2 separate regions of the Homo sapiens genome follow, and region 2 is linked to region 1. Evidence: promoter capture Hi-C in human tissues and cell types (Jung and others, 2019). All regions are on one chromosome and are shown on one strand. The core of a region is centred on a gene start or on the middle of the fragment in contact, and the rest is flanking DNA. Distances in the headings are between cores, read along the strand shown. Region 1 holds the start of GDAP1L1 (ganglioside induced differentiation associated protein 1 like 1). Region 2 overlaps HNF4A (hepatocyte nuclear factor 4 alpha).

The links. Contacts are between HindIII fragments. The study calls those that stand out against the background at their distance.
Region 2: a fragment that was not itself captured here is called in contact with the fragment with the promoter of GDAP1L1 in region 1 in 1 of the 25 tissues and cell types used here (lymphoblastoid cells).

Annotation. Positions count from the first base shown.
Region 1 is chr20:44,245,308-44,251,481 of GRCh38, reverse strand. GDAP1L1 (ganglioside induced differentiation associated protein 1 like 1) reads right to left here and starts at 4,174. Exons shown (of 6, transcript NM_024034.6): 1 at 3,968-4,174. The coding sequence starts at 4,147. RefSeq lists a silencer at 3,019-3,313 and an enhancer at 3,674-4,472. The HindIII fragment of the contact is 5,443 bases long and covers 1,816-6,174 here.
Region 2 is chr20:44,380,966-44,386,637 of GRCh38, reverse strand. The region is part of intron 1 of HNF4A (hepatocyte nuclear factor 4 alpha); the gene reads right to left. HNF4A-AS1 (HNF4A antisense RNA 1) reads left to right here. Exons shown (of 3, transcript NR_172878.1): 2 at 1,966-2,115. Among named protein-coding and RNA genes, the nearest start is that of HNF4A-AS1, 12 kb to the left of the region's middle. The HindIII fragment of the contact is 4,459 bases long and covers 1-3,897 here.

The DNA.
Region 1 (6,174 bases), core at 2,925-5,424:
TTGCTTCTCTCCTGCCATGCCTGGGTGTCTGAACTGGCCTCTGGCAGGCCCCAGACTTGGGTCTCTTGCCCCTGGGATCTGAAGGCTGGGCCAGGGGCCCTCCAGAGGTACATCCAAGACAGGGCAGACCCTGAGAGGAGGCAGTAAGGGAACCATGAACCAGGCTTGCTGCAGGGAGCCAGAGACGACCCTCAGAGACTCACTCTGGTGGAAATAACAGCAGTAACAACAGCCAACTCTTATTATCACCTCCTCTGTGCCAGGCACTATTGTAGAGCTTTACATGCATTAGATCTTAATCCCTATGAATTCCAATGAAATTGGTACTAGTACCTCCCAGTACCCTCACTTTTAAGAAAAGGAAGCAGGCACAGAGATTGTAAGTAACTTGCCCAGTCACACAGCTAGGAAGTAGCAGTCTTGGTTTTTGAAAAGGGGCAGTTGTGAGGACAGATGGATGCCCCAAAGTCAACGGGCACCGAGAGGTAGGGCAGTTCTTCCTGCCTGGTGAAGGAGGAGGGAGGCACGTTGTATCAAACATCTGGTTCATTTCCCTGCTGAGAAAACTGAGGACCAGAGAGGGTCAGGTCACACAGCCAGTTAGTGGGACTGGCAGCACTAGAACCTTGGTCTCCTGACTCTATGCTTTTTTGCCCCTCCTGGCCTCATTCTTCCCCACAAAGGAGGAGGAGGCTGGGGGCAGGAACAGCCTCAGAAGCATCCTAACATTGACCTTAGGCATTTAGAGCCTCCTTCAAACCCTGTGGCCCCAAGCAATGACCTATGATAGTGCTTGAAAGCTCACTCTTAACAGGCAATTGTTTAAGGCATTGTGCTAAGTGTGTGAACATGCATGATATCACTCAATCTCCTCAACCCTCTCCCCCAAATATATGAGAAAGCTGACTTAGACAGGCAAAGAAGACACTTGTACAAAGTCACATAGCTGGGAATGGCAGAGTTGGGGTTTGACCGCATGTCTGGCTGATTCCAAAATCCATGCCTTTATAACAGCACCCAGCACTTAACTGAGCACTTTCTATGTGCCACGTGCTATTCTAGGTGATTGACATGGATACATTTGCTGAATCCTTACAACGACCCTGTTGGGGAGGCACCATTAATATTCTCAATTTACAGGTGTGGATATAACTGGGGCATGAGAGGTTAAGCAGCTTGCACGGGATTACCCAGCTGGTCAGTGGTAGAGCTGAGATGGAAGCCCAGGCAGTCTGGTCATAGAGCCTGGGCCTGGACCCACACACTGTCCTGTTGCCCTCTGGGTCTGGAATGATCTCCAAATGCCCAATGGAGCCACCATCACTCCTAGAGGTGGACTATTTTTTTCCATTCATATTTCATGTGCCATTAAAGACAGGCTATTTAGATGCTTGACAATGGGGGACTGCCCTCTTTATATAATTAAGGCCCTTCAGGATTGGAGAGAAGGAAGAAAACTCATCTGCTAAGCTCCTACTACATGCCAGGAAGTTAACATATGCCTATGTCTTCTAAAGGAATTCTGCAGGGTAGGATGTAAAATCCTCTTTTCCAGATAGGGACATTGAGGCACAGAGAGGTAAAGTGACTTGTCCAAGGTCACTCAGCCAGTAAGTAGCCAAGACGAGAATAGAACCCAGGACTATATGACTGCAGAGCCCATGCCCTTTCTGCCAAGCTACACTGCTTCTAGAATCCACCATGGGCCCCTGGGTAGGGGGAAGGCCCTGGTATGGGAGACAGAAGGATGCCCAGGTTAGCTTGGCCAGAGACTTGGTCAAAAGTGGGGCTGCAGCAGATGGTCTCATCCTGACTCAGGGGCCACCTCAGCCCTGAGCTCACGCTACATAGGAAATATTTCATGAGGCAAAGAACAGGAGGCTCCCTCATGATATGGTTGTGGGAGATGCCACCTCCCTGCCCCCTGTCTGGTCCCAGCCGCTGGGGCCCACTTCCTGAGGTTCTAGCGGGGAGGAAGTTCTAGACTCTGAAGGGCAGTCTGATTCATCTCCAAAGCCCCCATCCCCAGGCTCCTTGAATGAGGCCTGGCACGTGCAAGCATGTGCAGAATTTGTGGATGACTCCAGTATGACCTTGATTAACTCTGGCCCCTCCTTTACCTAGTGCCTTAATAACATCATAACGGCCGCTCCTGGTGGCTCACACCTGTAATACTAGCACTTTGGGAGGCCAAAGTGAGTGGATCACTTGAGATCAGGAGTTTGAGACAAGTCTGGCAAACATGGTGAAACCCTGTCTCTACCAAAAATATAAAAAAATTAGCCGGGTGTGGTGGCATATGCCTGTAGTCCCAGCTACTCAGGAGGCTGAGACAGGAGAATCACTTGAACCCAGGAGGCGGAAGTTGCAGTGAGCCAAAATCATGCCACTGCCCTCCAGCCTGGGCAACAGAGCAAGACTCTGTCTCAAAAAAAAAAAAAAATCATAACACTCATTATCAACAGAGTCTTGACCTCTCGCCAGGCACTGCCATCATCAGTACTTTTGTGCATCATATCACATTTCACTCTCATAATAGCCCTCTGAGGAAGTTACTGCATTCACCCCATTTTACAGATTATAAAGCTGAGGCTTTGGACAGGCAAAGGGACCTGTCCACAGCTCCACAGTGAGTCAGTGGGCAATATGATTGGTGGACCAGCTTCATCAGCATCACCTGGTCGCTTGTTGGAAAGGCAGCATCTTGGACCCCATTCCAGACCCACTGAATCAGGATCCTTGGGGTAGAATCCAGCAGTCTGGGTTTTAACCAGGATCATCCAGGGACTCTAATGCACGCTCAAGTTTGAGTAGTCCCAGTCTATAACACTAAGTTCCTAAGTTATATCCCTTCTTCAACAACCATATCAGCAACCCTGAGAAGGGGTTGGGATTGGAAGTGGCTATTGTTGTATCACTATCCCGCTTTCCAGATGATGAAATGAGCCTGGACCAAGACTCAAATCTAAGTCTTTGAGTTCCAAGGCCCTTTCTCTTCATGGATTCTGTTTTTCCATCTGGAAAATGAACGAATGGAACAAAAGGATCTTCCAGGAAGAAGAGGAGTCAGAAGGTCAGGCAGTGGTGCCGCTTAGGCCCCTGCAGGACCTGCCTCTGGGCCCTGGCCATGGTGCTGAATCCGTGGCCCAGAGACGGGACAACCGCCCAGGGTGGGAGATTGCGCCCCTAGAGGCGCCCCTGTCTGAGGGGTGCAGTTCACAGCCTTACCCCCAGGAAGCGGGAACCCTGAGAATCCAGTTGGATTTCCAACTGCCCCTCAGGTCCCCTAGGTCCTAGAAGCATTTTAGGGGCTGGGGCCACTCTGTGCCTTTAAGAGCAAAACAGACCTGATGGGCTGAGCCGAGCTGGTGTGAGGGGATGGTTTAACTCCTTCCTTCTCAGCTCAAGACACGGAGTGGGGGGTGGGCGACGACTGGGGACAGACCCTCCAAGCCCTAGCCAGAAGGCGGCCCGCAGACAGAGGGGCAGAGGAGCTGTGACCTGGGGGCCTGCAGTGTCCGGGACGGCAGCGTGCAGGGAGCGACTGAGAGGGGGCTACCGAGGCTGGACCCCAAGTAGCGCTTCTTCTCCCTCCCCGCAGCAGCAGCACCTCCCACCCCACCAAGCCGCCTTCCCAGCAGTGCCCATTCCCTTCCCCTCGCCTTTGTCTCTTTTCTCAGCCCCCCCAACCCGCCCCGCACCCCAACAGACCGGCTGTTTCTGGGAGGGAAAGAGGCAGAATGGATGCTCCTAAAATTGAGAACTGTGCTCCTGGGGCCCAGACAGGGCCTGTCGCTTCCCAGGTGAGCAGTCCTGGAAGGAACCCTTGCGTCCCCCGACCTCCGGGACCCCCAAACCCCAGGTTCCCCCCTCCAGTCTTTCGCCGCCCTCAGATCCCTCAAGCCCTGGGGCTCCCCTCCCCAAGCTTCCTGGCCACCGGCGCAGGCGGCTCCCGGCCCGGCTCTACCTTCTGCGAGCTGAAGGACTGGGTCCAGTGGTACAGAACCAGGCTCTCCCTGGGCCAATGGGCGGGGCTGGCCGCCTCGGGAGCGTCGGGGGCCTCCGCTGGCTTGGCCGCATCGCTCTCCAGCGCGGAGATGGGCCACCAGCTGCAGTTGGTGGGGGTCAGATTGTTGGGGGTCGCCATGACAGCCCGGAATCAGAGGCAGGAAAGAAGGAGGCTCCGGCGCGGCGGCTCTCTCTCGCCCAGCATCACATGGCCTCGCCGAGCCTGCCCCTCTCCTCCCTCCCTCCCCGCTCCGTGAATGTCATTACTCACCGGGCAGTTGGGGGAGGGGGCGAGGGGATCCCGGGAGCTCCTTTCTCCTCCTCCCCCTGGCCCGCGCCAGAAAAGCCGCCAGCCCTCAGTGTCAGGCTCCCTGCAAGGGTGGAAGGAGCCCGAGGAAGTGGGTCGTGCCCCCCAAACAGCTCAGTGTATTGGGCCAGGCACCTGCCAAAGATTCCACCCTCATCAACGCTTTCCTGCCTCTCAGTCTTCTAAGGGGCAAATACTTCTTAACTGGGATTCTAGAGAGCTATTCCTTTAGAAATTAGTGTCTGGAAATTACTTGTCTCGCTTTGAAGCTGTTATCTTCTAACTTTTCCCCTGAAGGGCCTCGAAGGGCAGAGGGAACAGACTATGATTTATTTAACAGACACTTACATAGCACTTACTGTATGCCCAGGCACTGTTCTAAGAGCTTTACAACTATCAGCCCATTTAGCTCTCACAATAGTCCTATTAGCTTCATTTTACAGAGAAGGAAACTGAGGCACAGAGAGGCTAAGTGACCTTGCCCAAGGTCATCGAGCTGGTAGGTGGTGGAGCTGATGTGAACACAGGCAGTCTGGCTCCAGAGTCTGTGCTCCTAGCCATAAGGTCATGATAATATGGTAAGAATATAAACAATGGCACAGCAACCATTTATCAACCTGAGCCCCTTACATGCATCATCTCATTTCATCTGCACAATAATCATTTTTCACGGATGAGGAAGGCGAGGCTCAGAAATGTCAAGTCATTTGTTCAAGGTTGCATCTTCTACCAAGGCACAACCAGATGAGCCCAAAGAAAGCCCATAATGCCTTTGCTGTCACAAAGTCTGCCCTAAACATACATAAGAACTTCAGCAAAGTTCCTTAATACACCTATACTTCCGTTACTATAAATACTGTGTTTTAATTTATTTACCATTGAGGAAATACAGAAGCAGACCCTGGGACAACAGATGCAAATAGATGTACTAGGAAGATAAGCTCAGTCCTCCCTCTCACCCCCGACCGCCCACCCCCATCCATCATGCTGCTAAGGACTCCTGGGTACCTCATCCCCCAGGCTGTAAGCCTGGCTCATAAGGAACCGGTGAACCTCCTTCTACCAGATAACAGATGCTCTGTGGTCCCTGGGTTTCCCTTTTTGCCTTGGCTGCCACAAAGCCTGTAGCTACATTTTCTATCAAGTCTCAGTTGCTACATTAGCCTCCCTGGTTCAGCATACTTTTTTTGTCACTCTTGTGAAATTTTTGATGTTGTTCACTGTTCAATTTTGCAAAAAAGGGCATGGTATGTCTTGAAGGAAAATTCAATCCTGTATGCTCCCAGGGTCACAATCTGGTAGGTTTAACAAGTGCCATAGGTGATTCTCATGAGATGCAAGGTTGGTGATACTGTTTGCATCTGTGTCTCCACCAAATTTCATGTTGAAATGTAGTCCCCAGTGCTGGAGGTGGGGCCTGGTAGGAGGTGATTGGATCATGGGGGTGGACCCCTCTTGGCTTGGTGCTGTCCTTGCAATAGTCAGTGAGTTCTTGTGAGATCTGGTTGTTTAAAAGTATGTGGTCAGGAACAGATTAAGAAAGCAAAAATAAATAAATAAATAAATAAGTATGTGGCACATCTTCCCCTACTCTGTCTTGCTTCCTTTCTCACCATGTGATATGCCAGCTTCCCCTTTGCCTTCCACCGTGATTGGAAGCTTTCTGAGGCCTCACCAGAAGCCAAGCAGGTGCCAGTGCCATGCTTCCTGTACAGCCTGCAGAACCACGAGCCAATTAAACCTCTTTTCTTTATAAATTACCCAGTTAAACCTCTTTTCTTTATAAATTACCCAGTCTCGGGTATTTCTTTATCACAATGTGAGAATGGTCTAACACAGCTGGGAAACACTGAGCTAGA
Region 2 (5,672 bases), core at 419-2,918, 140 kb before region 1:
AACTATCTCCAGACATTTATAAATGTCCCTTGGGGGTTGAAATTATCTCCACTGAGAACCACTGTGCTGGGCTTCTACCCTTACAAGAAATTTTCTCTCAGTCATTCAATGCTTCTCAAATCTTGGTGTCCATAAGAATCATCTGGGGCCATTATTAAAAATTCAGATGGCAGCTGGGCGAGGTGGCTTACACCTGTAATCCCAGCACTTCGGGAGGCTGAGGCAGGTGGACCACTTGAGTTCAGGAGTTCGAGACCAGCCTGCCAAACATGGTGAGACCTCGTCTCTACTAAAAATACAAAATTAGCCGAGCGTGGTAGCACATGCCTGTAATCCCAGCTACTTGGGAGGCTGAGACAGGAAAATCACTTAAACCCATGAGGCAGAGGTTGTGGTGAGCCGGGATCGTGCCATTGCACTCCAGCCTGGTTAACAAGAGCAAAACTCTGTCTCAAAAAAAAAAAAAAAAAAAAAAAAATCAGATGGTGGCTGGGCACGGTGGCTCACGCCTGTAATCCCAGCACTTTGGGAGGTGGGTGGATCACCTGAGTTCAGGAGTTCAAGACCAGCCTGGCCAACATGGTGAAACCCTGTCTCTATTAAAAAAAAAATTAGCCAGGCGTGATGGTGCATGCCTGTAATCCCAGCTACTCGGGAGGCTGAAGCAGGAGAATCGCTTGAACCTGGGAGGTGGAGGTTCCAGTGAGTGAAGATCGTGCCACTGCACTCCAGCCTGGGCGCCAGAGCGAGACCCTGCCTTAAAAAAAACAACAAAAAAAATCAGATGCCTGGGGTCCTACCTCCAGGTGCCAGGACCAACAGTGGGCCTAGTCATCAGATTAAAAAAAAGAAAATATTTAATAAATAGAGGTGGGGCATGGTGGCTCATGCCTGTAATCCCAACACTTTGGGAGGCCAAGGCAGGTGGATCACTGGAGACTAAGAATTCAAGACCAGCCTGGCCAACATGGTGAAACCTTGTCTCTACTAAAAGTACAAAAACTAGCTGGGTGTGGTGGTGCATGCCTGTAATTTCAGCTACTTGGGAGGCTGGGGCAGGAGAATTGCTTGAACCTGGGAGGCGGAGGTTGCAGTGAGAAGAGATCAGGCCACTACACTCCAGCCTGGGCGACAGAGTGAGAGTCCATAAATTAATAAACAAACAAATTAATTAATTAAAAAATAGAGACGGGGGGAGGTGTCTTGCTATGTTGTCCAGGCTTGTCTTGAACCCCAGCCTCAAGCAAATCAGCCTCCCAAAGTGCTGGGATTAAAGGCAGGAGCCATGGAGCACCTGGCCCAAGTGTTTAATGAGCTTCTGGGCACTTCTGATACCAGGTGCCCTCAGACCGCACTTTGAAAACTCCTCAAGGAGGCCTCTCAATCACCTGATCACCAAACCCTGTGTGAGGCTCCCTACCCACCTGGACCCTCTCCTTGAATTCCTCTCCTTTCCAATTATTACCCTTCCCTAGATAGCAAGTGGTGACAGAACCAAACCCTAGCTCAGCCAAAGCCCAAATTGCCTCATCTCCCTTCAGGGAATAGGCAAAAAAAAAAAAAAAAAAAAAAAAAAAAGATCACAGAGTTCAGCTGAAACCACTTAGGAAATATCAGCATCCCCACCTCCCCACCCAAAAGGACTCCTGAGTGGCAGCCTGAGAGGTGTGTCTGCTCATCAGAATAATGTTGTCAGACTGTGTTCTTTCTGGGGGATCATCACACTCCCTTTTCTGGGAACAAATGTTGGCCACTTGGTGGGATGGGCCATCATGATCTACGTCAGACAAATTCAGTGAGTCATGACTCAGCCTATCTCTCTAGACCCATCTTTTATGCCCCCTTACTTATAGTCTCTCTGAGGGCTGTTCTCAACTATTCTATTTCTCTCCTTTCCGGCACATGATGGGGATTACATTTTCTTGCTTCCTTTGAAATGAGATGTGACCATGTTACTTGTTTCAGGTAACGAGATGTGAGCAGAAACAACCTGTGTCACACCTGGGCAGAAGCTTTAAAGGCCAGTGCTGCCCTTGTTGGGGAAGCAAGTATAGATATGAATCGTTCCACAACGCGGAGCGCCCCCTGCCGACCCATGCTGGGCGTGTACTATAGGTGAGCAATTAACTTTGCTGTTCAAACCATTGAGACTTAGGGGTTTTTTTGTGGTTGCAAGCTAACTTCACTTCACTTGACTGAACACAGTCTTTCCAAAGTTTCACTAATTTTTTAATGACCATTATGATTTTTTCATATCTGTAACATTTTTCTTACATCAACTCACTTCTTTTTACTTCAATTTATTTTAGAAAGAAATATTATTACTACCAAATGAAACAGTATCATAAGTAGAAAGCAATGAGAAAATAAACAGAATGAAAGAAATCCTGATATCAAATCCTGACTTAATACTATTTGCCTTTCAAAGCCTCTGGACCTTTGGTCTTTATTTAAAAAAAAAAAAAAAAAAAAAAAAAAGGAGCCAGGGGCCAGGCGTGATGGCTCACACCTGTAATCCCAGGAATTTGGGAGGCCGAGGTGGGAAGATCACCTGAGGTCAGGAGTTCGAGACCAGCCTGACCAATATGAGGAAACCCCATCTCTACTAAAAATACAAAAATTAGCCGGGTGTGGTGGCATGTGCCTGTAATCCCAGCTACTCAGGAGGCTGAGACAGGAGAATTGCTTGAACCTGGGAGGCGGAGGTTGCAGTGAGCCGAGATCGCTCCATTGCACTCCAGCCTGGGCAACAAGAGTGAAACTCCGTCTTAAAAAAAAAATGGGAGCCAGGTGCGGTGGCTCATGCCTGTAATCCCAGCAGTTTGGGGGGCTGAGGTGGGCAGATCACTTGAGGTCAGGAGTTCAAGACCACCCTAGCCAACATGGTGATATCCTGTCTCTACTTAAAATGCAAAAATTAGCTGGGCATGATGGCATGTGCCTGTAATATCCCAGCCTCTTGGGAGGCTGAGGCAGGAGAATCACTTGAACCCAGGAGGCGGAGGTTGCAGTGAGCTGAGATTGTACCACTGCACTCCAGCCTGGGGGAGAGAGTTGAGACTCCGTATTTAAAAAAAAAAAAAAAAAAGAGGTCCCCAAGAGTACTTCTCAATCTTTTGGATCCCCAAAGCTGTCTAAGATTGTCAGAATATTTGAAGGCAGCACAGTATTGAGGCTGAGTGTACCAATTCTGGAACTTGACATCCTGGGCTTAAATTCTGGTTCAGTCATGGACTAGCTGTGTGACCCTGGACAAGTTACTGAACTGCTCTGTGACTGTTTTCTTATTTGCAAAATAGTGACCATAATGATGTGTATGGCATTAGGTCGTGGTGGGGATTATTTGTGTTAATGTATAAAAAGGGCTTAGAAGTGTGCCTGGCACTTAGTGAGTGCTATGGAGGCATTACCTATAAAATGATGGCAGGATCCAGATCCAAATAGATTTGGTGAATTATTGTTTGTTTTTTTTGAGACAGGGTCTCTGTCACTCAGGCTGGAGTGCAGTGGCGCCATCACAGCTCACTGCAGCCTCCAAGTCTCCAGGCTCAGATGATCCTCCTACCTCAGCCTCCAGAGTAGCTGGGACTACATGTGTGGACCACCACCCCTGGCTAATTTTTCTATATTTTGTAGATATGGGATTTCACCATGTTGCCCAGGCTGGTCTGGAACTCTTGGGTTCAAGCAATCTGCCCCTTCTTAGTCTTCAAAGTGTTGGGATTACAGACGTGAGTCACCCCACCCAGCCTGGAGAAATGTTTGAACTCCATGGAGATAAGTAAAAAATCCTCTGCATTGGTTAAAAATAAATCACCTGGATGATTTATTTATTTAGTGTAGATGGGAAAAGCTACCTTAGCAGAAAGTGACATAGCAAAATTCTAGAGGTTTTACTTGGTGGCAGCTGCCCAAACCTCTAACCCAGTCGTATGTATCATTAGAGAGAATGTAGTTCCCAGGTCAGAGGAGCTAAGAGGTCCTTGGCATTCTACTCCTAAGGAGCATATATGGACAATTGTGTTTAGTTTTCATTTTAATATGAATACTTAAAATTTTCCTAGGATGGCAGAGGATGAGAAAGCTATGCCCCTTAGGCCGAGTGCAGCGGCATGGCTCATGCCTGTAATCCTGGCGCTTTGGGAGGCCAAGGCGGGCGGATCACGAGGTCAAGAGATCGAGATCATGTTGGCCAACATGGTGAAACTCCATCTCTACTAAAAATACAAAAATTAGCCTTGCGTAGTGGTACGCACCTGTAGTCCCAGCTACTTGGGAGGCTGAGGCAGGAGAATTGCTTGAACCTGGGAGGCGGAGGGTGCAGTGAGCCGAGATCTCGCCACCGCACTCTAGCCCGGCAGCAGAGCGAGAGTTCGTCTCAAAAAAAAAAAAGAAAGAAAGAAAGAAAGAAAGCTATGCCCCTTGAAGAATAATCAAAGATCCAAAAGAGTTTTGGGCTGGGTATTGGAGAAGAGGAGAGAAAGGTGGTGTAGCAGAGTGGTCAGGGCCATTGCCTTTGAAATATCAGTGGTGCCATTTACATAGCTGTTGGACCTTGCTAAAATCATAAGCTCTTCAAGCCTTATTTGCTTCATCTATAAAATAGGAATCAATGATAGGACCTTTTCATAGATTGCTTTGTGGAGTAAATGTGTTAAACCTTATAAACCTGGCAGGTAGCTGCCCAGCATATAGTTGCGTTATTTACTCAATTCAAAGTACTTTCCTGCCGGGTGCGGTGGCTCAGGCCTGTAATCCCAGCACTTTGGGAGGCTGAGGTGGGTGGATCACTTGAGGTCAGGAGTTCCAGACCAGCCTGACCAACATGGTGAAACCCTGTCTCTACTAAAAACACAAAAATTAGCCGGGCGTGGTGGCAGTCACCTGTAATCCCAGCTACTTGGGAGGCTGAGGCACAAGAATCACTTGAACCTGGGAGGCAGAGGTTGCAATGAGCTGAGATCGTGCCGCTGCACGCCATCCTGGGTGATAGATTGAGACTCAGTCTCAAAAAAAAGGCAACAAAGTACTTTCCTTTGGAAAAGAGTGCCCACTGGCTGGGTGAAGTGGCTCACGCCTGTAATCTCAGCACTTGTGGGGCTGAGGCAGGCAGATCAGTTGAAGCCAGGAGTTTGAGACCAGTTTCACGTGGCCAACATGGTGAAACCCCGTCTACTAAAAATACAAAAATAAGCCAGATGTGGTGTCATGTGCCTGTAGTCCCAGCTACTCAGGAGAGTGAGACAGGAGAATCATTTGAACCCTGGAGTTGGAGGTTGCAGTGAGCAGAGATCGTGCCACTGCACTCCAGCCTGGGTGACAGAGTAAAACTCTGTCTCAAAAAAAAAAAAAAAAAAAGCTCTCACTGATTCCTACAGCTTCAGAGAATGAACGAGGACCAAAATGTGGATGCTACAGGGAGGAAACTTGAGGCTCAAAATGGAGATCTTTCTATAAAATACAATTGTTCTACCACAGGAAAAGCTGCTTTATTAAGTAGTGAGTATTCCGTCATTGGAAGTATTAAGCCCAAGCTAAATGGTCAACTGTCAGGGAAGGATGGTGAGAGGATTCCAGTGGGTTAGAGGTCAAAGAGCGTCTACCAGGTGCAAAAGTCTTAATTAACAAAGTACTATCAAAACCAAATTCATGTTTGGGAAACTGTATATCCA